Linked DNA regions of Homo sapiens: all the other regions are linked to region 1. Evidence: promoter capture Hi-C in 16 types of primary human blood cells and fetal thymus (Javierre and others, 2016). All regions are on one chromosome and are shown on one strand. The core of a region is centred on a gene start or on the middle of the fragment in contact, and the rest is flanking DNA. Distances in the headings are between cores, read along the strand shown.

Evidence for each region. The method cuts DNA at HindIII sites, captures the fragments that hold promoters and counts their contacts. A CHiCAGO score of 5 or more calls a contact.
Region 2: a contact is called between a fragment that was not itself captured here and the fragment with the promoter of SULF2 in region 1, in 5 of 17 cell types (naive B cells, M1 macrophages, total B cells and 2 more). The highest score is 9.0, in naive B cells.
Region 3: a contact is called between a fragment that was not itself captured here and the fragment with the promoter of SULF2 in region 1, in 14 of 17 cell types (endothelial precursors, M2 macrophages, M0 macrophages and 11 more). The highest score is 55.1, in endothelial precursors.
Region 4: a contact is called between a fragment that was not itself captured here and the fragment with the promoter of SULF2 in region 1, in 3 of 17 cell types (erythroblasts, M1 macrophages and M0 macrophages). The highest score is 6.9, in erythroblasts.
Region 5: a contact is called between a fragment that was not itself captured here and the fragment with the promoter of SULF2 in region 1, in 1 of 17 cell types (M1 macrophages). The highest score is 5.2, in M1 macrophages.
Region 6: a contact is called between a fragment that was not itself captured here and the fragment with the promoter of SULF2 in region 1, in 1 of 17 cell types (endothelial precursors). The highest score is 5.1, in endothelial precursors.
Region 7: a contact is called between a fragment that was not itself captured here and the fragment with the promoter of SULF2 in region 1, in 6 of 17 cell types (endothelial precursors, M1 macrophages, M2 macrophages and 3 more). The highest score is 10.4, in endothelial precursors.

What each region holds. Positions count from the first base shown.
Region 1 is chr20:47,783,335-47,786,730 of GRCh38, reverse strand. It overlaps SULF2 (sulfatase 2), which reads left to right and starts at 1,250. Exons shown (of 21, transcript NM_001387048.1): 1 at 1,250-1,388. It overlaps LOC124904920 (a long non-coding RNA gene), which reads right to left and starts at 977. Exons shown (of 2, transcript XR_007067618.1): 1 at 569-977; 2 at 1-326. RefSeq lists an enhancer at 1-132. The HindIII fragment of the contact is 4,753 bases long and covers 1-2,345 here.
Region 2 is chr20:48,637,578-48,640,973 of GRCh38, reverse strand. It overlaps PREX1 (phosphatidylinositol-3,4,5-trisphosphate dependent Rac exchange factor 1), which reads left to right. Exons shown (of 40, transcript NM_020820.4): 30 at 1,080-1,208; 31 at 3,222-3,263. Among named protein-coding and RNA genes, the nearest start is that of PREX1, 190 kb to the left of the region's middle. RefSeq lists an enhancer at 2,129-2,423. The HindIII fragment of the contact is 6,763 bases long and covers 1-3,396 here.
Region 3 is chr20:48,620,611-48,624,006 of GRCh38, reverse strand. No RefSeq gene overlaps it. Among named protein-coding and RNA genes, the nearest start is that of PREX1, 210 kb to the left of the region's middle. RefSeq lists an enhancer at 2,964-3,023 and a silencer at 3,324-3,396. The HindIII fragment of the contact is 2,496 bases long and covers 617-3,112 here.
Region 4 is chr20:48,567,018-48,570,413 of GRCh38, reverse strand. No RefSeq gene overlaps it. Among named protein-coding and RNA genes, the nearest start is that of LINC00494, 210 kb to the right of the region's middle. The HindIII fragment of the contact is 313 bases long and covers 1,585-1,897 here.
Region 5 is chr20:48,417,859-48,421,254 of GRCh38, reverse strand. No RefSeq gene overlaps it. Among named protein-coding and RNA genes, the nearest start is that of LINC00494, 60 kb to the right of the region's middle. The HindIII fragment of the contact is 2,340 bases long and covers 688-3,027 here.
Region 6 is chr20:48,352,273-48,355,668 of GRCh38, reverse strand. No RefSeq gene overlaps it. Among named protein-coding and RNA genes, the nearest start is that of LINC00494, 5.9 kb to the left of the region's middle. The HindIII fragment of the contact is 842 bases long and covers 1,171-2,012 here.
Region 7 is chr20:48,329,508-48,332,903 of GRCh38, reverse strand. No RefSeq gene overlaps it. Among named protein-coding and RNA genes, the nearest start is that of LINC00494, 29 kb to the left of the region's middle. The HindIII fragment of the contact is 1,930 bases long and covers 930-2,859 here.

The sequences.
Region 1 (3,396 bases), core at 1-2,500:
CTCCGGCCTCTTCTGTGGCGCGAGGGACAGCGGAAACCACGGTAGACAGCACCCCCTTGAGTCCAATTCCTCCCCTTTCGGAGGAAGCCGGTTTCTCCTTTCTATGCTACTCCCGGGCCATTTCTGGACAACAGCTGCTATTTTCACTTGAGCCGAAGTTAATTTCTCGGGGAGTTCTCGGGCGCGCACAGGCAGCTCGGTTTGCCCTGCGATTGAGCTGCGGGTCGCGGCCGGCGCCGGCCTCTCCAATGGCAAATGTGTGTGGCTGGAGGCGAGCGCGAGGCTTTCGGCAAAGGCAGTCGAGTGTTTGCAGACCGGGGCGAGTCCTGTGAAAGCAGATAAAAGAAAACATTTATTAACGTGTCATTACGAGGGGAGCGCCCGGCCGGGGCTGTCGCACTCCCCGCGGAACATTTGGCTCCCTCCAGCTCCGAGAGAGGAGAAGAAGAAAGCGGAAAAGAGGCAGATTCACGTCGTTTCCAGCCAAGTGGACCTGATCGATGGCCCTCCTGAATTTATCACGATATTTGATTTATTAGCGATGCCCCCTGGTTTGTGTGTTACGCACACACACGTGCACACAAGGCTCTGGCTCGCTTCCCTCCCTCGTTTCCAGCTCCTGGGCGAATCCCACATCTGTTTCAACTCTCCGCCGAGGGCGAGCAGGAGCGAGAGTGTGTCGAGTGAGTGTGCGTCTGTGTGTCCCGGCGAGGGTGCGCGCTCGGCGCCGGGAGCGCGGCCAGCCGAGTCCGGAGGCATCGGGAGGTCGAGAGCCGCCGGGACCCCAGCTCTGCGTTCACTGCCCCGTCCGGAGCTGGACTTCGGGGCCGGGGCCGGGGCCGTGCGCCGGGGACAGGCAGGGCCGGGTCGCGGGCCGCGCGTCCCCCAGGCCGGAGGTAAAAGCGCTAGCGCGCGGAGGGCTCGAGGAGGGCACCGCGGCTGGGCCCCCCGCGCCCCGGGCCCCAGCCGTCCGCGGCTCCCGGCCCGACGCTCCCCGCCCCGGAGCGCGCCCGCCTCCCCTGCGTGGAGGCCGGCGGGCAGGCGAGCGGGGGGCGGTAGCGCCGTGCCAAGGGGCTGGCTGGGGCAGCGTGGCCGGCCGGGCTGGGGCGATTTAAGAGCGGTCCGGGCGGGGTGCGGAGCCGGACTTTGGCTGGGGCGGCGCGCGGGGAGGGGGCCGGGGGCGGTGGCGGCGGCGTTGGGGGGCGGGGAGGAGGCAGGAGGAGGAGCAGCAGCGCTCGCCGGGGGATGCAGCAGCGGCAGCGGCGGCGGCGGCGGCGGCAGCGGCAGCGGCGGCGCGGAGTCCCCTGCGCCCAGCGGCCCGGCCGGGCTGCGGCAGAGGCGGCGGCGGCGCCCCGCTCCGGGTGAGGTTGCCGGGGCCGTGCGCGCTGGTGAGTGGGGCGTGGGGGGCAGGTGGGTGGCTGGGGGACGCGGGGCTCGGGCGGGGGCTCGCGGCGGCCGGAGCCTTCCCCGGCGTGAGCCCGGCCGCGAGCGCCGCCCAGGTGAGCCGGGGCTGGTCCGGACCGCCCGGCTCCAGCCCCAGCGCTGCTTGCGGAGGTGGGTCCGGGCGGGCGGGAGGGAGGCTCCGGCGCCGGCCGTCCGCAGAGGGATGACCTGTTTGACCCCGCTGGCTGGCGGGCGGGCGAGGACTTCCCGCCGCGCCCCTGACCCGCGGACACGGCACACCGAGCACAGGCGGCCCCGGGTAGGGGAGCGCGCCTGGGCCGGCCATCCGCAGGGGCATGGCCTTGTTGACCCTTAGGGTTTAGACCCAAGGGACCGGTAGATGCCAGCCCACGTGGGGCTTGTCCGGGCAGGACTCGGGGAAGCAGTGGGCCGGATCTTCAGAGTGGTTGGAAACTCGCAGACACCGAAAGGACAAACAGGATCGAAAAGGCAGACTTCCTCCCAGGCCAGGGCAGAACGAGTTTCCATCGCCTGGCGGAGGGATGCTCCCCTCCCCGGCTCCTCGGGGTTTCAGAAGTCTAGCGGTGAATTCTAGGAGTGCACTTTTCCAAACATTCCTTATAGTAGTTCGTTCATTCGTTCTACAAGCATTTCTGGAGCACCCCCTCGTGCCGGGCACCGCGTTCTGTTCCAGGGAAACGCGGCTGAACAGGATCTGGCTCCTGCGCGCCAGAAGCTGCCGGTTCACTGGGAGGGCAGCAGGGTAGAGAGATGCCGTCTCGGGGTGGAAGATGGAAAGGGAAGCCTGCAATCCTAGTTTGCACACTGGCCTCGGTCCGCAACTCCCCCACCTGCACGCAGTAGGCCCAGCACACAGTAGGAAGAGCAAGCCAGACCTGCCTGTGACGACCCTCTCCTCCTCCTCCTCCCCCTTGAAAGCTTTGATTCATTCCCTGCCCCCCTTTCTGGAAAGTCTTCCTGCAGCTTGTTTTAATCACTTTTTGAGTTAAAAGTCAATATTTAATTAACCAAGTAATTACATTCAGCTTACGTTTCAATCTGGGTATTTGCTCATCTGTGCGTGTTGGGACACCCGCCCTCTCGCCCCTCCATCTGTCCCCTGCCTGTTTCCCACCGGGTCCACCCCCACTTTTGGGGCAGAGAAGGGGAGGCTGCGCTGGAGCAGGTTCTCAGGGGGAGACAGGGAGCAGGAGAGACGGGCTTTCTCTGGAGGACACCCCCGGATCTGCGCGCTCTCCAAATTTCAGCTTGTAGTGAATAGTGAAGGTGATTTCTTGACAGCCTCTGCCTCCCATTACAGAACCACCAGAGGGTTCTAATTAAATTAGAGCCAATCGTTAAGTATAGGAACGGGGTAGGGAGGACAGAACGAAGGGGGCCCCTTCCCTGTAAGAGATGTTCTCCCCAGCTTCGTCTCTCCCACATCATAGAGAAGAGAAAACTCATCCAGACAGCCTGTCGGATGTGTAATTTAGCGTTCTAATAAGCAGCTTGAAAGGCGAAGGTGGTGGGCTTGGCAGATGGCATGTTGGACCTTTGTACATGAAGGCCTCTTCCTTCCCCAGCTAAATTTATATACATAAAGGCCGTGATGTTGGCATCACTGCTGCAGCTGAGGGTCAATGTGGGTTTGGGGTTTGGGCTTTGTGTGTACTTCTTGGGTTTTTTATTTGAATTTATGGCTTTTTCTGAAACCCTAATAACATGTTAAATTTTCAAACTTGAGAGTAGAGTGATGAGTTGACTGTAAAAGTCTGGTCTTGGAGGAGGACAGCATAGCAGTGTGTGTGCATGCACGTGCATGTCCCCCAGTTCAGCTGCTGTCCAAAGAACCCAGTTGATATGCAGTTTCACACCTGATTTGGACCTGATTTGGGAGATAACATTTCCTTCTCACTTTTTCTGGCACTGGTTAGTTTATCTGCTTGGACCTGCCTCAAGAGGGCAGCTGGGTTAACCAGGCAGAATATC
Region 2 (3,396 bases), core at 669-3,168, 850 kb before region 1:
CCACCCATGCACCCATCAATCCATCCGTCCATCCACCCCTCCACCCAACTACCCACTTACCATCTATCCATCCACCCACCCACCCACCCACCCATCCATCCATCTACCCACCTACCCATCCATCCATCCATCTTCTTGTCTGTCCATCCATCCATCCTTCCCTCCTTCCATCTGTGTGCCCACTCTTTCACCCTTCTACCCATTCATTCATCATCTACCTGTCCATTCATGCTTCTGTACATCCAGTAAATAATTTCCCAGAACCAGCTTGTGCCAGGCCTTGTACTGGGCACTGGAGACCCTGAGATGAATTTGATACTGCCCTGACCTCAAGGAGCTCATTGTAGATTGTAGGAGATAGAAATGCAGATGGGCAGTTGCCACCAAGAGAGGGTGGGAAGTGGTGAGGACTTGGGGCTCCCCAGCTCAGCTGCACATCCTGCTGTCTCAGGATCAGCTTTCAGGGATGGACCTCAGAAAGCAGAAACAGCAAACCCACAAATATCTCAGAAACTGGGACCTTGCAGGAGGAAAGAGCCTTTGTCTTTTGCAGGGGCCTTTTTCTTCCTGGCCTCTGAATGGTGGGGCCAGAGGTAAGTCCCAGCGCTGTCACTGCCCAGTTGCATGACTTAAGGCATGTCACTTTCCCACTCTGTGTGTGGGCTTCCTCCTCTGTGTAGGGAAAGGGATAGAACTCATGTGCCATCTCAATTGGTTGTGGCTATGAGGAGGTAGTTCCTGAGAATCCTTCTGTGGCTACAACATCCAGGCTTAGACGAAAGGAAAGCCGTGATTGATTTGTGAGGTCTGCACTGGATTGGCTATAGCTGTGGGGAGTCTTGGTCTCAGAGCAGCAGGAAGGAGTGCTGAGATTGATGAATAATGCCTGCCATGGGTGTGGTACCATGAAATAGCACACTTACCCTCTGTGGACCCGATAATGCCCAGGAGTCCTGCCAGCTCCCTTGATCTAGGATTATGAGCTCTGGGATCTGTGATGGGACATAGGCCTTTGTGCCACCGTTCTCCAACACTACCTCCGTCCCTTCCCTGGCCCTCATGCCACTTTCCTGCCCCAGAGTTTAAACAGAAAGAAGAGTGTACAATCCGTGGCCGGAGCCTGATCCAGATTAGCATCCAGGAGGACCCCTGGAACCTCCCCAACTCCATCAAGACCCTGGTGGACAACATTCAGAGATATGTGGAAGGTCGGTGGGCAGGGAGGGTGCATCATGGTGGGGAGGGGGCCATGGCTTTTGGTGTGGAACCTGAGAGAATCAGGAATGGATCCAGTTCTGTGACCCCTGTTTCTCCATGACCAGGGAGAGGACAAGAGAAGTGATGCCCTCTCTCAGCTGAGTGTCCTGCCCTGGGCAGGATGTGACTTGAGCCCAGGAGTTTGAGACCTGGGCAACATAGTGAGACCCTGTCTCTATCAAAACAAAAATCAGAAACAAAACAAAACAAAACAAAGCCCTGACTTTGGAGGTTGAAAAGGCTGAACCTGTTCTTTCTCAGCTTCCAAAGCATTGGATGTGTGAGTTCCTGTTATTATCAGGGTATGAGGGACACCGGCTGGCAGCCCACTGACCAGATTCAGGCCCACAGATAGGTTTCGATGCTGCAGCAGCAAAAACTGTGACTCTGCTTCCAGCTTGACAAAGGTTCTCACATAGAAACTTGGATTTCTGGCTGCTCTTGAACAACACGAAGATCTGGTGACTCTAGGCCCAGTCTCCCATCCTCCCTTGGTGGAGAGGAGTGGCGGCCGCTCTGTGTACGTGGGGCCGAGGTGCTTTCCAGTTCACCCCAGTCTCCACCACTCCCTGTGGCTTGGCGTCTGCTCCACGCATCTTACATCACCTGCCTGGCCCTTGCCGGCATTTGCGTCTGAGACTCCTGCGTTAGAAGGATCCGGACGAGGGAGATGTTTGACCAGGACAGTGGGAGATTAGAGGACTCTGGGCTGTTCCCTCGGGGAATGGCAGCCTCTGAGTCGGAGTCTCTGCTGCTTCTGATCTGTCCTGTTCTCCAAAAGTGTAACCAGTGAGGAGCATCGACTCTGGGTCCAGACCACCAGGGCTTGAATCCCAGCTCACCCACTTACTGGCTGTGTGATCATGGCGAGTTCCTTGACGCCTCTGGCCTTAGCTTCTTCCTGTGTCAAATGGGCCCACAGTGCTGCCTCCTTCCCGTGTGGTCAGGAGGATTAAATGAGTCAGCATAGGTCATGCGCTCAGTGCCCTGGCTGCCTGGCGTGGTGACTCCTGGCCTGGCTTCCTGGTGTGGTGAGTTCTGGCCTGGCTGCCTGGCGTGGTGAGTCCTGCCGTGGTGCCTGGCGTGGTGAGTCCTGACAAGAGCGCACCACTGCAGCTGCTCTCGTTCTTACCCTGCCCAGCCCTGAGTCCTGCAGTCCTCCCTGGGGAAGAAGGCACCTAATAAACCAAATCCAAAGCCCTTCCACATCTTTCTAAGCCCTTTTGTGGGCCGAGGAGCATCTTTTTTAAGGAAAGAGAACAGGATGTTGGGCCTGGAAGAATTGAGCTTTTTTTGCAGGACAGGGCGTGTGTAGGGCCATGCCCATGTAGGATGAGAATATGTATGTGAGGCTGTTAGGAGTGTGTGTCTTATGTGTGCACTCGTGTGTCTGTTGTGTGTCTGTGTGGATGTGTGTGTACCTGTGTGTGTACATATGTATGTGAGTCTGCAGATGAGTGCACGTGTGTGGTGTGCACTTGTGTGTCTGCTGTGTGCTTGTGTGGGCGCATGTGTACCTGCGTGTGTACATATGTGAGTCTACGTATGAGTATATGTGTGTGTCTCTGTGTGTGGCATGCACTTGGGTGTCTGTTGATGTGTGAGTGTGTGTGTGTATGGATACGTGTGTATCTAGGTTGTACGTGTGTGTGACCATACTTATGTGAACAAGGTGTGGGGCAGGGGCTGTGGCCCAGGGATTAAAGGGGCTGGTTCCATCTGTGTCCCAGGCTTGCACGTACAGATGGGGCTCACAGTTGGGGTTCCACTGCCTGAGGTCAGGGGTTCCTGGAGTTTACCTGACAATCAATAAAACCTCCTTGAGCACAGCCTTGGGTGCCAGGGCTTTGCTGTGAAGGGTCAGAGCACCTTGGGAGGTGCCATGGGGAGGGGCCCGGTTCTGCCCTCACCTCTTGCTGCCCCCTCCCAGCCCGTCCCCCTTTCTGTCTCCCTTCTCCTTCCAGATGGGAAGAACCAGCTGCTCCTGGCCTTGCTGAAGTGCACAGGTGAGGCCTTTAAAGGTGTGTGGGGGGCACATACCCGGCCTCTTCCACCACCCAAGGCCGACCATCCATGCCCTCGGGGCCTGGACGGGGGGAGGCAACGCTTTGGCCTGGAGCCCCTCCAAGAGCTACTTGA
Region 3 (3,396 bases), core at 615-3,114, 840 kb before region 1:
ACGGATTGCCTGCAACCCAGGTATACAGGAAAATAACAGGCCTTATTTGATATTTCAGCTTTTTTCCCCCCTGGATTCTGAGCTCCCATTTCACTGTGAAGGTAGGAAAAAGTGACTGTTTTCCCAGGAATTCCACACCTCCTCCTGGGTGGCTTACTTGTGCTGAGGGGACAGTGTGGATCCAAGGGGTGCCATAGAATCCTCCTCGCTCCAACCTGCAAGGCCTGTTGGATCCAGGCGGGAGTGGAGTTCAAAATACCCACAACATGGTCGTGCCGGACCCCCAGTCAGCCAGAACTTACGCTGGCCACAAACAGGCCTATTGGGCAGACGTGAAATGCACCAATGAGAATAGAGAGTCTGCGTGCACACCTGGGCCTGGTGGCTGCATCCTAGGCTGTCAGCAGGTTCTCCACCTGCCTGGGCCCAGGTGATCTTTATGAAGCTGCCTGGGTTTGTTTGCATAGTCAGAGAAACCTCATTCCCTGGGCTGCAGACCTGTTCTGCTGTGCCAGCCCTGTGCCCCCTCGTCCTTTTTTTTTTTTTTTGAGACAGGGTCTTTTGCTCTTATCACCCAGGGTAGAGTGCAGTGGCGCGATCATGACTCACTTAAGCTTCGACCTCCTGGGCTCAATTTATCCTCCCACCTCAGCATCCCAAGTAACTGCAACTACAGGCACGTGCCACCACGCCTGGCTAATTTGTTAAATTTTTTGTGGAGACCAGGTTTCAGTATGCTGCCTACCAAGTAGCCTGGACTACAGGCACACACCACCATGCCTGGCTAATTTTTAAAAATTTTTATAGAGACCGGGTTTCGGTATGTTGCGTATGGCCTCTTCTTTATTCCATCTTTTCCCGATTTCCAATCCTTTGGAAAATGCTGAAATCGATGACAGTTTCCTCTGGGTCATGGCCACCCTTGGGACTCCCCTGTACCATGGTGCTGCACCCAGCCCTGCCATTTCACACTCGAGCCCCTTCTCTTTCAGTCTCTTTTCCTTCCAAACTAACCTGTTGCAGATTACATTCTCTGAAGGCCCAGATTGGATCCCTCCCAGAGAGAGATCCTCGCGTCTCTCAGTTACAGGTTTCAAAGGACTCAATACTCTAACAGGCAAGAGGGAATCCTGGTGGGGTTTCAGGCACAGTCATGGATTGATTATTTAGAATTATCTGAGGCCAGTGTTTGGATCCAGGGAAAATCACTTCGAGGGAAGACCTGTTACCTCAATCTATATTTGAGGTCAACAGGGAGGATTGGACGTCTTCCTTCAGGCAGACACGTTTCTAGAAAGCATCGATTTCAGCCTCTCCTCCACCCTGGGGGCCCGCAGAAGGAACATACATTCTCCTGGGGCCGTAGGCAGGAGCAGCTTGGGTTTCCAGCCGGCTCTCTGTGGCCTTGAGCAAGTTGCATACTTTACAGGCTCAGAGCTGTGCTTGCAGAGTTGGGAGGGAGAGCCGGGCCCACCTCCCTCTCCGAGATGTGTTTCTCCAAGTATAAAACTAAGCACGAAGGGCCTCTCAGAGCAAGCGGACATTTTTGCAGGAGACAAGAGGTCTCAAACTGATGGCTCCAGGCTGAAACTTGGAACTAAATGTGGGTTTTTTTTTTTACTTCCTTCCTGATATGGTGTTTTAAAAAAATGAATTATATTTATGAACCAGCAAATTTCATCTCTGAATTCTGATTTTTAGTTTGTCTCGAAAATCAGAAGCTCTGAGCTGGGTGTGGTGGTGCGCACCTGTGGTCCCAGCTACTTGGAGGCAAAGGTGGGAGGATTGCTTGAGACCAGGAGTTCAAGGCTGTCGTGCGCTTTGATCACACCTGTGAATAGCCAACTGCACTCCAGCCTGGGCAACGTAGTGTGGTCCTGCCTCTTAAAAAAAAGATTAAAGAAAAAATCAGAAGCTCTGGTCACACTGGTCCACATTCCCACCTGGCTACATGTCAGCTGGAGCTGAGGAGCGGCTGTCTTCTTGAGGAGGGTGCCAGCTCTCCAGCTCCCCGGAGCCACGTGGTCCGAGCACTCATCCGGCCTGCTCACGCTGACGGCCAGATCCTTAGCTCTGGACTTGCCATGGCGATGTCAGCTCGGGGAGGACCTGGTGACCCGGAGTCACTGTGCCGTCCAATGGAGAATCAAGGGGCAGGCGCAGCCCCGCATTGACGTCTCTCGGAGCCTCTCCTTCTCTGCTCCTCCAGGATGAGGGCAGGGCCCAGGTGGTTGAATTCCTCTGAGCCTCAGTTTTTTCATCTGTCAAAAGGTGCTGACCCAGAGATGGCCCCTTGGCGTGGACTGCAACAGAGGCCACCCAGGAAGTGGAAGGTACGATGGGGTGTGTTGACCGCTTTATGATTTTATCTAAATAACTGTTGGTGTACTTCCTGTCCACCTTCCCCCCAGCAGTAAGAGCAGGAACCACACCCCTTCCATACTGTAGCCCAGGGCCAGACAGTGGTGAATCACGGCTAAATATTAATAGAAGAAAGCAGGGTTAGCACAGTGATCAGAGCGGGGGGCGCAAGCCACACCCATCTGTGGCCAAGCGGGCCCCTCTAACCTCTGTGTCTGCCACGTGGGTTCATTCATGGGGGGCTGGACTAGGACCTTTGAAGTCAGACACCCTCGCCTGCTCCTGAATCTGTCAACACCTGATACTTGCTGAGTGGCCATATCTGAGATTCTCTGTCTTTCTGGGACCCTCAGCTTCCTTCTTTGAGAAATGGAGACTTTACGCCCACCTGGCTGCCTTGCGGGGGTACCAGGAGTCTCCTCCAGGGCCCCAAAGTGGAACTTCCCGGGATAAGTGTAGTGCCCTGTCTGTCCAGCAGGTGGTGCTGGGGACCGCGTAGTGCCCAGAGGCTGCTGTTCCCCGGGCTCCAGCACTCAGACCGAAGGCTGGCTCCTGGGTGCAGGTATTTGGGACAGAGCCAGCCTGGAGGCGGGGCCTGGAATCGTCTGGACAATGGGCACTGGCGCTATCCCTCTCCTGGGCTGGGCTTGCCGTGAATATTTTCTCTTTTTTTCTCTCTTTTTAAAAACTTTTTAAAATTTGTCTCTTTCTTACTTTCGTCCCCCTCATTTTCTTTCTCTCTCTCTAAGCTTTTCTATATTTGTCTTTGTCCCATAACATATGTCTGTGAGCTTGACTCGATTTTTCAATTCTTTCCTTTCGGGGATCTTTCCCTTCTCTCTTTTCTCTTTTTTCCCTTCCTCTCTTCTGATTGGAGGAGAAGGATATGAAAGGCCCTTATGCACTGTAAAGCGGGGTGCTTACGAAGCTTGTGACCAGAAACCCACAGTCACTGGTGCACCTTTGTGGAAGTGACGGCCACTAGATGGCGCTGTGGGCCAGGGCGCCCCGCCTAGCCTTGCGGGCCTCCTGCCC
Region 4 (3,396 bases), core at 492-2,991, 780 kb before region 1:
CCCAAGTCAGAGACCACACTCATCAGGGTGCCCCAGTGCCTGGCTGAGCCCTGGCACCTAAAGAGGCTCATCAAAGGTCGTCTGAATTGAATTAAGCCAGTAACACCCTGGCAGGACCCACAACTGCCATGGCCTCCTTGACCAAAGGAAACCACACAAACAAGGTCTCAGCTTCTAAACTTTTCTCTTCTTTCTTAGCCTCCTGGTGACAAAAGCCTAAAGGTCTTTGAACATCACCCAAACAGATTTTCCTAATGGATTTGAAACTTTGATGACACTTTCGAGCACTTTCTGATCAGTAAGCTCACAAAACCAGTTCCGCTGAGCTTTCGATACTTCCAAGAGGCAGCTCAGGGAGGAGTGACCACTTCACGTAGGGAAAGGAAAAGCCATTCTCAGTAAAAACCTGCACACTCAACCCCCAAAATAGGAAACAGAATGAGCCCCTCATCTTGCGTGTCCGGCTTCATCCTCCTAACCGGACCCTAATGAGGATGGACGGCTGTTCTCTGCCCCGGAACTGGATGGAATGCTGGGATTATCTCAGTGGAGAAGTCTCTGGCCCTGAGGACTGTCAGAACTCCTGCATGGATGAGCAGAAAATAGCAAATGATAAATTTTTCAGGAGGCCGCCTGCTTGCTGGCTGAAGCCGGCCATGAGATAATGTGTTGGACTTTAGGGGATGAGCCTTGTTGACCTGGGTCTATTTAGAGGTTCAGAAGACGCATTCTCCCCCCACCCCTCACCTCCTGGAAGGAGCTTGGCCACCTTCCAAGGCCAGTTCAACAGTTGGGCAGGGGGCCCTGGCTCATTCGTAGAAAGGAGGACTTTCGGGCAAAGATGTGAGAGTGGAGGGCTGCCAGGTGGAAGCTGACAGACTCCACAGAACATGAGGGACCCTAAGACCGCTGTCTCCACTCCCTAGAGAGTTTATCTTCAGAAATACTTGCTCAAGGAGGCAAAGATGAATATATAAAGACATTCCCAGTCACACTGTGTATTACAATTAAAAATAAACTTTCAAATTGGAACAATTCAATATCCTCTACCTGAAGACTGGTTCAATAGTGCAGTGATTAAAAAACGTGGCTCTATGGCTGGGCATGGTGGCTCACACCTGTAATCCCAGAACTTTGGGAGGCCAAGATGGGAGGATCACTTGAGCCCAGGAGTTCAAGATCAGCCTGGGCAACTTAGGGAGACCCTCGTCTCTACAAAAAATACAAAAATTGAACAATGAGAACACTTGGACACAGGGCGGGGGACATCACACACCCAGGGCCTGTTGTGGGGTTGGGGGAGGGATAACATTAAGAGAAACACCTAATGTAAATGACCAGTTAATGGGTGCAGCACACCAACATGGTACATGTATACCTATGTAACAAACCTGCATGTTGTGCACATGTACCCTAGAACTTAAAGTATAATAATAAAAAAAAAAATTAGCTGGGTGTGGTGGCACTCTCCTGTAGTCCCAGCTACTTGGGAAGCTGAGGTGGGAGGATTGCTCGAGCTCAGGAGGTTGAGGCTCAAGAGGTTGAGGCTGCAGTGAGCTGTGATCACGCTACTGCACTCAAGCTTGGGTGACCAAGTGAGACCTTGTCTTAAAAAAAAAATTAAAAATAAGTAAATAAAAACATGGCACTAGGTTTAAATATTGGCTTTACTGCTTTCTGGCTGTGTGACCTGGAGCAAGTTTCTTAACCTTTCTGTGCCCTAGTTGCTCCACCTTTATAATGGCGAGAAAAAATAATACGTCTATGTTGAGGCTTCCATGGTTTCCTTTGTGCTGCTCTCCTGTGTCCCCATCAGACTTTCTTATGCCAGGATATTTTCTTGGTTTTCATCAAGAGTCGCTGACACAAAGTTATAATCTGAGCTTAATATTAAGCTTATTTGAATCACAGATCTTATAGCAAATGTTTATCGCTCCCAGGAGAGAAGAGCTGGGGCTCAATCATCAACCTAGTGGCTCAGCTTAAAATGCAGGTGTTGTTTTTCCTCTTCTCTTTGCCTCAACCCCACCTCCAGTCCCCCAGATACGTACAGGGTCTGACGGCGTTTCACTATCTGCACTATGCACTCCAGTCCAAGCATCACCAGCTCCTGCCTGACAATTACAGTGGCTTCGCTTCCACCCAGAGAGGATGGTCTCTCTGCTTCCACCCTCACCCTTGACAATCTGTTCTCCACACTCAGCCAGAAGGATGGTGTTAGAATACATGTCTGGTCATGTCCCTTCCCCATCTAAGCCCCCTAACCCATTTTCATTTTATGGGAATGTAATCCAAGCTCCTCACCATGGCCTTGGACAGTCTCCCCAGTTTGTCCATCTAAAGTAGCCCCACTACCACCCTTGCTGTCTGGCCCATTGCCTCCCTTTGTTCTCTTCTTATAATTTATTTCTCTTTGAAATGACTGCATGTATTCATTTGCTAACATCATCACCTCCACTTCCTGAGGGAAGGAATTGTGTCTGTCTTCATTACTGTAGCCCTAGGCTGTAGAATAGTGCCCGACATAGGGAGTACTCAAAAGATACTGGGTGGAAACATGATTTGGTCTGACCCTTTCTTCGTCTTTAGGCTTTGGGGGAAACCCTTTTCCTTGTGAATCCAACTCGAATCCCATTCTGTGTCTATGTGTGTCGTCTTGCACCAGGAACCCGAGGCTAGGCATGGCGACTCTGGGCAGACGCAGCTTGTGATGTGAGTGGAAGAAGCTGGATTCTCTGAGTCTTGTGCCTCTGTTTCCTCATTTGTCAAAAACAAATACAAAAATGGGTCTAAAAGAAGGCCTTTCCTTCAAAGGCCTTTCTGGCTCTGGGGTCTCTGATGTGAAGTTAAGGGGGTCTGGGAGCTGCAGCCTGTGTCTGGGGCCCTGAAGCAGGTGGGCTTTCCAGGAAGAGGGGTGCTGTGGACTCTGTCCTCGGTGGCCTGGCGCTCGTGCTGGTCCCTTGAGAGTGCTCCCAGGCGGTAATGATCCCTCTGCAGGTTTCTCTGGGGTCAGCTGGGTTTCTGCTCTGTGGGCAGCAGCTGGTACAGCAAGTGCAAAGGCCCTGGGGTCAGGTGGGATTTTAACTGGCTTCCCCAGAGTGTTGGGTGGAGAAATGTGATTGGCACAGACAATCATCAGCCCTTATCCACCAGGGGATACATTCCAGGACTCCCAGTGGACCCTGAAACCACAGCTAATACAGAACCTGACTGAACACGTTTCTGTTCATGTCTCCCATCCACAAATTTAATGGTTTTTTCCATCTTAACTAAGCACTTGTGCACTGTGGCCATATCTTTTGCAGTTTGAGGTGCAGCAGCAAAACTAGCATGAGTTTCTTTTTCCTTCTCAATTTCAAGGATAGAAGATTTATTCTTACTGAAGATCTTAGCAAC
Region 5 (3,396 bases), core at 608-3,107, 630 kb before region 1:
AGGGTACACATAACCTGCATCCCTCACTTCTCACATCCCTTTGGACAGATCGTGGTCAGGTGGCACATCTCCTGCAGGGGGACTGGGAACAGCAATCTTTAGCCTAGGTGACCAAGCACCCAACTAAAAATCACTGTCTGAAGGAAGGGAAGGACACTGGGGTACAAGGAGCCATCTCTACCCAGGAATTAAACAGAAAAGACCTTTCTGGAGGAATGGAAAGAGCTGGAAGGAGAACAGAGAAATGAACTAAAATGGAATAGAAGGGGAATGTGCTGTTTTGCATAAATTACTGATGCTTTGAGAAGATGACTTCTCATGCTGATTGGCACTGGGTCTCTGGTGGATTTCAAATGTCAGTGCAAACAACCTTTGCCAAACTAAGACCGCCCATCAAGGTCGTCAAGACTGGGTCCAGTAGATAAATATTCCCCACAGTAAAATCAGGATGTTCTTGCTGGAAAAATCCGATTCTGGGCCTCTTAGCAAACGTCCATAGCAGAGTTCCACGGGAACAGCGATCCTCAGCCCTATTAGACTGAACTGTATTTTATGATATCTTATGATGATGCTTTACTATTCTAAAATGAAATTCAAAAATAATAGGAATTACCTATATGTATAACCTAAAAGCAAATCAGGATGATGTCTTAATTGTAATATAAAAGAGGGAAAAGGGAACAAGCTTGTTATAAAATAATACAGATAATACAAAATAATAACTTCTATAAAATGAACTTATAATAAATATGTGAAAATGATTACGTGTAGCTACACTAGACAAACCCCAGAAGCAGCGAGACGTCTGCACCTCCAGTGATGAGTAGGCCAATCAAAGAGCAGGAAGCCACACGGCTCAGCAGCACTCTGCACAGGCAGTTAGGGAAAAAGGAACAGTGGTGTCTGTGGGCAGAGACTACAAACTCTATGTTCAATGTCCTTTGAAAGCTGCCATCAATACCTAGAGTTCTGTGTAAAATGGAGTGAGTTTCTAGGCTCATGAATTATTCTAAGGGATATGGATAAGTCATGGGACTTTGTTGTGTCTGAGTGTCCTGAATGTGGCAGAATTCTAGTGTCCCTGGACTCCTATTGAATAATTGAATAAATGTCAGTGTCCCCAATCAAAACACAACCAAAACCATCCCCACAATATCCAAAATGCCCCCAGAAGGGTATGATGTCCACCATAGATCACTACACTGAAGGGCTGGGCGTGGTGGCTCAGGCCTGTAATCCCAACAATTTGGGAGGCTGAGGTGGAAGGATCACTTGAGCCCAGGAGTTCAAGACCAGCCTGAACAATATAGCAAGATTCCATCTTTACTAAAAAAAAAAACCATAAAAAAAATTAACCAGGTATAGTGGCGCATGCCTGTAGTCCCAGCTACATGGAAAGCTGAGGCTGGAGGATCACTTGAGCCCAGGAAGTCAAGGCTGCAGTGAGCCACCACTGCCTGCAAGACAGAACAAGACCTTGTCTAAAAAAAAAAAAAAAAAAAAAAAAAAGGAAAAACTGGAATTCGCAAACCTAAAAAGACTCAGTCCTCTTCTCTCAAATGCAGCTATGTAGTGCAGTACTTGGCCAAACAGAAATTATTCTTGTTTTTCAAATGGTCCCCTTTGGGAGCTTAGGATTTGAAGCCTCAACCCCAAGGAGGGGTCCTTAAGTCCACACTCTACTTACATGTAGCCTACTCTGTGTCTTTATTTAAACAAATCCTCATTTTTCGGCTCCTTGCAGCAAAGTCACAGCTCCAGGGGTGACACTCTTCAGCGTTTATGTGAAAGGGAATTACATCCTGTGTAATTCTAGTCTTTTCAGCCATGGTTGTTTCTTTGGTGTCGTGGGGGTATGTTTAAGCATCAAAAGGAAAAAGAAGGAGAAAATCCAAAGAGACCACCACTAAGTCTGAAATCCTGTTAAACCTTAAACAAAACCAAACCCAACAGGCCTTGACAGAATAAGCTCATAAACAGAACAGACCACAGTCTTAGCAGTGAGACCCTGTGGGGTCTTTTGTAAGCCCAATTCCTTCCATCTGGACTGCGGGGGAAGCTAGGGTTTCCTGGTTCCTAGATATTCTTGTCAGGCTACTTGGAATGGAAGGAACCAGTCTTTGATCTTTGGATTTTTTTTCTCATTTTAAGGTTACTTACATAATAAAACGTATTTTTGTTTGTTTGTTTGTTTGTTAAGTTCAGAGCTACAAGTGCAGGTTCGTTACATAGGTAAACTTGTGTCATGGGGGTTTGTTGTCCAGATTATTTCATCACCCAGGTATTCTGCCTAGTACCCATTAGTTATTTTTCCTGATCCTCTCCTTCCTCCCACCCTCCACCCTCTGAAAGGCACCAGTGTGTATTGTTCCTCACTACGTGTCCATGTGCTTTCATCTTTAGGCTCCCACTTATAAGTGAGAACATGTGGTATTTGGTTTTCTGTTCCTGTGTTACTTTGCTAAGGATAATGGCCTCCAGCTCCATCCATGTCCCTGCAAAGGACATGATCTTATTATTTATTTATTTTTTTATGACTGCATAGTATTTGCAGTGTGTATGTACCACGTTTTCTTTATCCAGTCAATCACTGATGGGCATTTAGATTGATTCCATATCTTTGTTACAATTAAAAAAAACATTAAAAAGTGGGCAAAAGACATGAACAGACACTTTTCAAAAGAAGACATATATGAGAAATGTATTATTTTAAAAAATAGTTATGGCTCATTTAAAAGGAAAGGGCAGAAACTATTACCTCACTCACGTAGTAGAGCTAGAAACAAGGCTTAGAAATATGCTGTTTTAAGTGAACATCCTGAGAAATTCGGGGTCTGCCATCAGGAGATGGGGAAGGGGAGAGAATCTCCTCCCTAAAATCCTTATATGCTAATCAGTGAAGGACATATTCCTAATACAGAGCAGAACTTCCATCTAAAGCACTTTTCTGAAACTCATTACCAGATATAGAGTGTAATTGCTGTGAAATTCTCAAAAATAACCAGAAGACACAAAAATCTAGAAGCTTGAAACAGCCCTAATGTTCTCCAACAACGAGTGAATGGATAAATAAACTGGGATGCCCATACTCCAGAATGACGCTCAGCTGTGGAAAGGAAGGAACCATTACCACATTGCAGCCATGGGCCTGTGTCTCAAAGGCATTATGCTGAGGGGCAGAGCCAGTGTCCCAAAATTATGTACTTTATGATCCTATTTATTTGGCATCCTCAGAAAAACCAAGTTATAGTGATGGAGACAGATCAGCAGTTTCCAGGGGTTCACTATAGGGATGGCACCGGACAATTGTTGGGGGGTTGAAACTCTTTTGGATCCTGATGGTGGTGGTGGTTATATGAATTTCTACATGGGTCAAAAATCCTTAGAAATCAGCTG
Region 6 (3,396 bases), core at 342-2,841, 570 kb before region 1:
AGGATTTGCTCAGGCCTGGAGAGCAAACCCCACACGCCCTCCACACATCGCCTGCACAAACACCCCTCCAGCCGAGCCAGCCTGTTTATCGCCCCTCAAACATCCTTCTCTCCCATCCTTGCTTGTGCTGGGACCCTTCCTGGAATACTTCACTCTCCTGTTTGCTCTTCTAACTTTCTTGGTCCTTCAAGACTCAGATTAAACCACCCTCCTCCCCCAGCAAGCACCAGCCATTGCTGCTGCCCTGTCTCAAGGTTTCTGAACCTCAGAACTATTGACATTTGCAGCTGGGAAATCTCTGTTGTGGGACTGCCCTGCATATTGTAGGATGCTCAGCAGCATTTCTGGCCACTACTCTGTAAATGCCAGTTATGCCCTTACCCAGTTGTGACAACCAAAACTGTGTCCAGCTGTTGGCAAGTGTACCTGGAGGGAAAAATTGCCCAGGTTGAGAGCCACCCATTTTCTGAACCTGAGACCCTAAGATTTACTGCCATAGCAATTTAATGACATTGTGATGTTTACTTAACTTCTCGCTGCTGCTTAGTGCCTTCACAGACTGTAGCCAGCCAGAGAGAAGCCAGTTTTGCTACAACCCACAACCCTACATTAAGTTGCCTCCCACACTGTGGAGGGATGGCTCAGGGCAAAGGAGCATGGCAGACCACATGCTTTGGGCTTGATGGCTTTAAAGCCTCTGCCAGACTGGGAGGCTCACAGCTTGGTACCAGGTCTGGATGCAATGCCATATTCCTGAGGCAGGATGATCTTTATGTACTTGATAAATTAAATAAGCAGAAGGCCGTTAGCCTAAGGCTATCCCCCTACTTTAAGCTCCTAAGTAACAAATTACAACCTAACTTGGTAAGTAAACAAACAGAAACCTAACTTAGGAGTATTTTTTTTTTGTAACAAATAGCCAGATTTCAGGCAATCAGAAACAGCTAAGTTTCAACCAATCATTGGCAGCCCACTCATCACACCATGCCTAAATAAGGCAGATGCCTAGTGGTAGCCAATCAGGTGATTTATCTGCTTTCATGTTTAACCTATAGAAGCTCACTGTCCAGACTACTGGGTGGCAGTCTCTGAACCTCTTCTGGTTCTGAGTGCTGCCCAACTCATGAATAGTTCTTTGCTCAAATAAACTCTGTTAATTTGTAAGAAGCTTTTCTTTTATCATGCTGTAGACACTCTTTCTGGCTACATTGCCTGTCAGCGTTCTCCTTGGACCCAGTAGGAACCAAAACTTGCTGTGACTCTCCAATAGTGACAGCCACCCCCTCCCACCCTCTGAGCTCCAGGAATGGCTCACAAGAGCTCTCTACATGCACTGTCTCATTCACAATGAATTAGGTACTAGTGTCCAGTTTTTAGAGCTTGGGAAACTGAGGCATGGAGCATTTCAATGTCCTATGCACATCCAGAGTGAGTAAGGGTAGAGACGGCTTTGTCCTGAGGGGCCTGAGTCCAGAGCCAGTGCCCACAGTTATAATTTTCACAGATCACCACAGCCCACCATCTCTCTGAGCACCCACCCACATTCTCCATGCAGCATGTAACTTGTAGGAAATGAAGGCATGCCCCAGACTTTGCCTGTGTCCAATGTTAACTCATTTCCTCTTTAGCACAAAGCATTTACTAAACGAGAGTTACTGATTTAGTGGATGCACCACTTGACTCTGTCATCTCTTCAGTGATAAGATCTGCATTTTGCTCACTACCTCATCTCAGAATCTAGCAGACTTCTTGATGCATGGCAGGAACTCATCATTATTTGCCTCATTTAATTGAATTGTATTACACTTCTTTTTACACTTCATCACACCTAACAGTGTTTTGCACAGAGAAGTCATTCAAAAAATTCTTGCTGAATGACCATATAACTGATCAATTAGTCACTTTTCAATTGAACAGTTTCCATTGTCCTTACAAGTGAAAAAAGTAAAACGACTGCAAAAGTGCTTTTATTATTGCACATTGATTGCTCCAATTAAATGGTTCTCTAAGCTTCAGAGAGCACAGTGATTCAGCTCTTTTGATTTTAAGCTCAGGTCTTTTCAGTTCTGATACATGCAGGTTTGGAAATCTGTGAAATGTGTAATGTGGATGCCATAAAACCATAATACTGGTAGCCAATTTAAACATTTCCTAAGGAAATTTATATCATTTAGAAATGAGGGAAAGTTCTGGATTGGGACTCAACAGAGTCAGTTTTAGGAAATTTGTTTCAGGGAGTCAGCTGAAGAGCAGCAGGCTGAGAAGCCAACCTGGATGTGACACCCCATGAGAGAAAAACTCACTTTAATGAATAAAGCAAATCCTGGCAAAGTGCATAGAGCTGATCTCAGAGGGGCTGCCTATTTTCTGACAATTGGCAATTCTATCTGTTAACTACAAGTGTGTCATGGGACAAGGAGGAAGACTGCCTGCAGCCCTCAGAGAATAGGATAGTTATCCTCTTTATTGGCACACAATCATGCTTCTAAGTAATTCTTTAGAGCTCATCAGTGGTGAGACCCTTGGGTATTAACTATATCCCTCTGAAGGCTGTGACCCAGAAGTGTCGGGAAATATATCTTGGGGGCAGAGAGGAAAGGAAGCTGAAAAGTAGCTTTTATCCTGAGCGCATTCTCCAAAATAGGCTTTACAACAATCTTTGCATGTGTGATGGGGTGTGTGTACACATACGCATATGTTCTGGTGGTGTGTGTGCCATGGTGTGTGCATAAGTGTACATGTGCCGATATGTATATGCACATGGACAGATGTGCTGGAGTGTGTGTGTACATGGGCAATTATGGACTGGGGTATATGCCAGGGTATGGGTGTACTGGGGTGTATGTATGCACATGGGCAGGTGTGTTGGGGTGTGTGTGCACATGGGCAGGTGTGTTAGGGTGTGTGTGCCCATGGGCAGGTGTGTTGGGGTATGTGTGCACATGGGAGGGTATGTTGGGGGGTGTGTGCACATGGGCAGGTGTACTTGGATGTATGCATGTATACTGGGGTATTTGTGTATGCCCACGTATGTGTGCATGTGTGTGCATGTGGGCATGTGTATTGAGATGTGGGCAGGTGTGCTGGGGTGTTTGCATGTACTGGGGTGTGTTTGTCTATGTGGTCACACACATGTGTGCATTTTTACTCCTCTATTACCATGAAGGGCCTGGAGGCCAGCTCTCTGCATCCATTTCCTCTGTGAGTCCTGCAGCCCCCACCTCTAGGACTTAAGGGTGTTTGGTGAACTCAGGAGTGTGGGAAGATGAACTGGAGGAAGAGTCAATTAGTTTCTCAGTCTGGATCATCAAAAGTGGCTGAGATAAAAGAAATACTTCATCATGAAAACATTTAGCAATCTTAAGATGGGTCCACAAAAGGATCACATTCGTCTAA
Region 7 (3,396 bases), core at 645-3,144, 550 kb before region 1:
CTTAAGTATGACCCAGGTAAATGGTGAATACTTTAACATAAACCAGCATTGTATGCGACCTCCAGTTCTGAACTTTATTTGTCTGAGGTTTATGGAGGTAAAGTGACTCAGCAGAGAAAGCAAATTCAAACTCCCAGGCAACTTCTTTTTAATGAGCTACTCAGATGTGTAATTTGAGTCAAACCAGACCCTGCCACGTTGTAACAAAAGGATTATAAAGTTAAATAAAAAGGGGGGAGCAATGTTTCATCTCCCTTTTATACATGCTAATGCATCTGAAAATTGAGAAAGAATTAAAAGATAATTAAAGAGCTCTTCCAATTATGCAAAGTTCAGGGAATGCAGGCAACCATTAATGGAAGAGATGGGAAAAGTAGAAGGTAAAGTAGTCTTTTGAAAGAAAGCAGAATATGTGTTTATGTTGGAATTTACCCCTGGGTGAATTTCCTTTATCTCAAGGATAATCACAAATTCCACCTGAAGCAGGTTCAGTATAGAACTCATTTCCATCTAAAACAAACCATATCCGATAAGCCTGAAGGGGCTATGGACAGTGTCTTTGCCTGGGATCCTCCACATGCAGGACCTGAGACAAGAGCAGGTAGATTATTTCCCAGAAATGATCCCAGGATCTGGATTTGGGGGACTGGCAAGAATAAAATGCGGGAAGAGGAAAAGCCAATCTAGGATGTGTTTTGAGCTGACTACCAACTATGGTGGTTTTAAAAACATGCTGCATGGTTTTAAACACTCCTCCCATGAAAGGTGGGTCTAGGTACCCTGTCATTCAATCTGAATGGGCTTGTTTTGCTATGTCACCTCCTTGTTTTGCCAGGTCATGAAAAGCCACTAGTAACTGGTGAGTTCTCTGTCCTCCTTCCTTCCTGCAGCATGGCTCTTCTAAACAGCAAAACATTGTTTGAAAAGCTTGAGTCTGGGTTCTTTTGCTATCTTTTGCTGTAACAGCAGTGAGTTTGAGCCATTAGAAAATTCTATGCCCTTGGACAGAGATTGGATCATAGGTGGACATGTGAGACTCAATTCTGAGACTTTTGTTGAAACTGTGGGACAGAAAATTTATTTTTCTCTCAGAGCTCCTGAGGATGTGAATAGGTGCCAGGACAGAAGAGCTTGCCTGAGAATGGGATTCACAGAGAACAAGTCACAGCTAGGAGGTGGGGGGGTGGGTGTCACTTCCTGATACCATCATTTGAGTACCTGGATCCAGCCATGCCTGAAGCTATTGCTCTTGGACTTTTTAATGACATGAGCCAATTACTCCTCATTATGCCTTTTTTAATAAGATAAATTTTTATTTAGATGCCATCAGTTGGAATTAGGACAGTCTGACTAAAACAGACCAACTTGGGAAAGATCTTAGATTCTCCAATACATGCTAACTTACTGGTAGGAGACTTCAACTATAAGACCACACAGAGAAAATCCTCTCTGGTCAGAACAAAATAGTGCCTCTTAATTCAGGCTAATTGGGGTTTTCATTTTAACATTGTTCTCACTTTTGCAAGACTCAGAGTAGACCGTGGTGTTCATTATGATCCCCTGATGTTGTATAAATCCAGTGGCTTCCTATGAATATGGAGACTTCATAGGCTGAACCACGCCTGAAACACATTCGTCTCTTTATCCTTTATCTTTTCTTATAAGACAAAGAAAATAAATACAATATGTATAATTATGAATGTTCATCAGAAACAGATACATAAGATAAAAGTTAAAATCTTAAGTTTTCGACATTACAAAGTGATATTATTTTGTCTGGGCTTCCTTTTTATAATCCAAGTGTTTTCTTCTCATCCATTGTGAGATCAATAATTAACTTTAGTGTAGCTTTTTATTCCTTCCTAAAGACTGGCTTTAATTCTCCCATGCCTCCATGTCTACTAAAGACATTTGAAGATGATGCATTCAATGTTTGTAACAATGCTTAAAAAATTTTCTTAAAAACGATTTTAGTTTTGGCAAGATTTAGAACTCATAAACGCATGCTGATATGCATTCTCTTACTATTTGCACTTCTCCTTAAAAATCAGTGATTTTTCTTCTGTTTTAGAGTTAGGTTTATGCTCATTCTTGTTCATCTCATAGTTTGCTGCCACAAAACAAAAATCAATTTAAAAAGAAAAAAGCAATTCCTATGTCTTTCCCCAATAACCTCTGAATATATATACACACACACACACACACACACACACACACACACACACACGCACATATATATATGACAAATCTGCTCTGAGATTATGAAGCCTCTTTTTCTTCTGGAAGGAATAAAATGGACCTTGAAAATCCATATCACAATGTGTCTATCACAGAGGAGGAAAAGGCCTTCGGGCATTCATAGGCTGTCAGGAGCTGCAATGGTGAGAGGCAGCATTGCATCCTTCCCATGAGAGAAACAGGCACCTTCAGGCAGGATCTTAGAAAAGCATAGAAAAATGACCTTTTCATGGAAGCTGGAACTTTGCTTAATGTGAATAAGGGTGACTCACTGCTTTGTGAAACTGTATATGTGTAATAATAAAAGAAGCCCTACAGTGTCTATTTATAATTCATTTTTTTGGTTTCCATTCTTTTTAGCTAGGGAAAATGTACAATGACCCCATAGTAGGTTCCTGACACTCTTCACACAGGCTGACTTTCATCTCTAGATTTTGCTGGGACGCATCTTGAGGACCTCTTGCCTTGTGGCTGCAACATTTAAGAGGCAACATGGATTGTCCACCTCTGTCTCCTGACTTTGGGTCCTGCAGAGCAGGCGGCTGTCTGGGGGCTGGTGGACGAGGCCCCAGCAGGGGGAGCACATGGTCTCTGGGCCTCCCCTACCAGGAAACCTAAGCTTTGCTTTGCCAGGTTCCCAGGGGCTGGCTCCATCTGGAACTCCCCATGAATTCACCAAAGACAGTCAGTCCCACCCTCCTGGCAAACTCGGTGCAAGTCCTCCAAAGACCAAGGCCAACCAGGAAGGAATCAGTTATCTGGCCAGGATAAATGGGGGGGCTGCTTTGTTGGAGAAAGGCCTGTGGGAGGGGGCCCTGGGGACACAACCTGCCCTGAGGGCCCACCTCTAACCTGGGAAAGTTCCCCACCTCCTGTGCTTCCCCAGCAGAGAGTGGGCTAAAAGCAGCTCTGTCTTCACAGGTCCTGGGAAGCACGAACGGGTTGGTGCGTGCTGAGCATTGCAAACTGGCATGTGGTAGGGCTACCCTGTCTCAGTTATTTTCACATTGGTAATTATTTTAGCCAAAGGGGAGTTTCTAGTGCTGATCTGAGAAAGTTACCAGTGCCCACAAAAGGGAAAAAGTAGACAGAGGCTGGATGCTTAGGAGGGTGCTCTTGTGCCCAACATCCAACATCAAGGAGCACTCGTCACAAAAA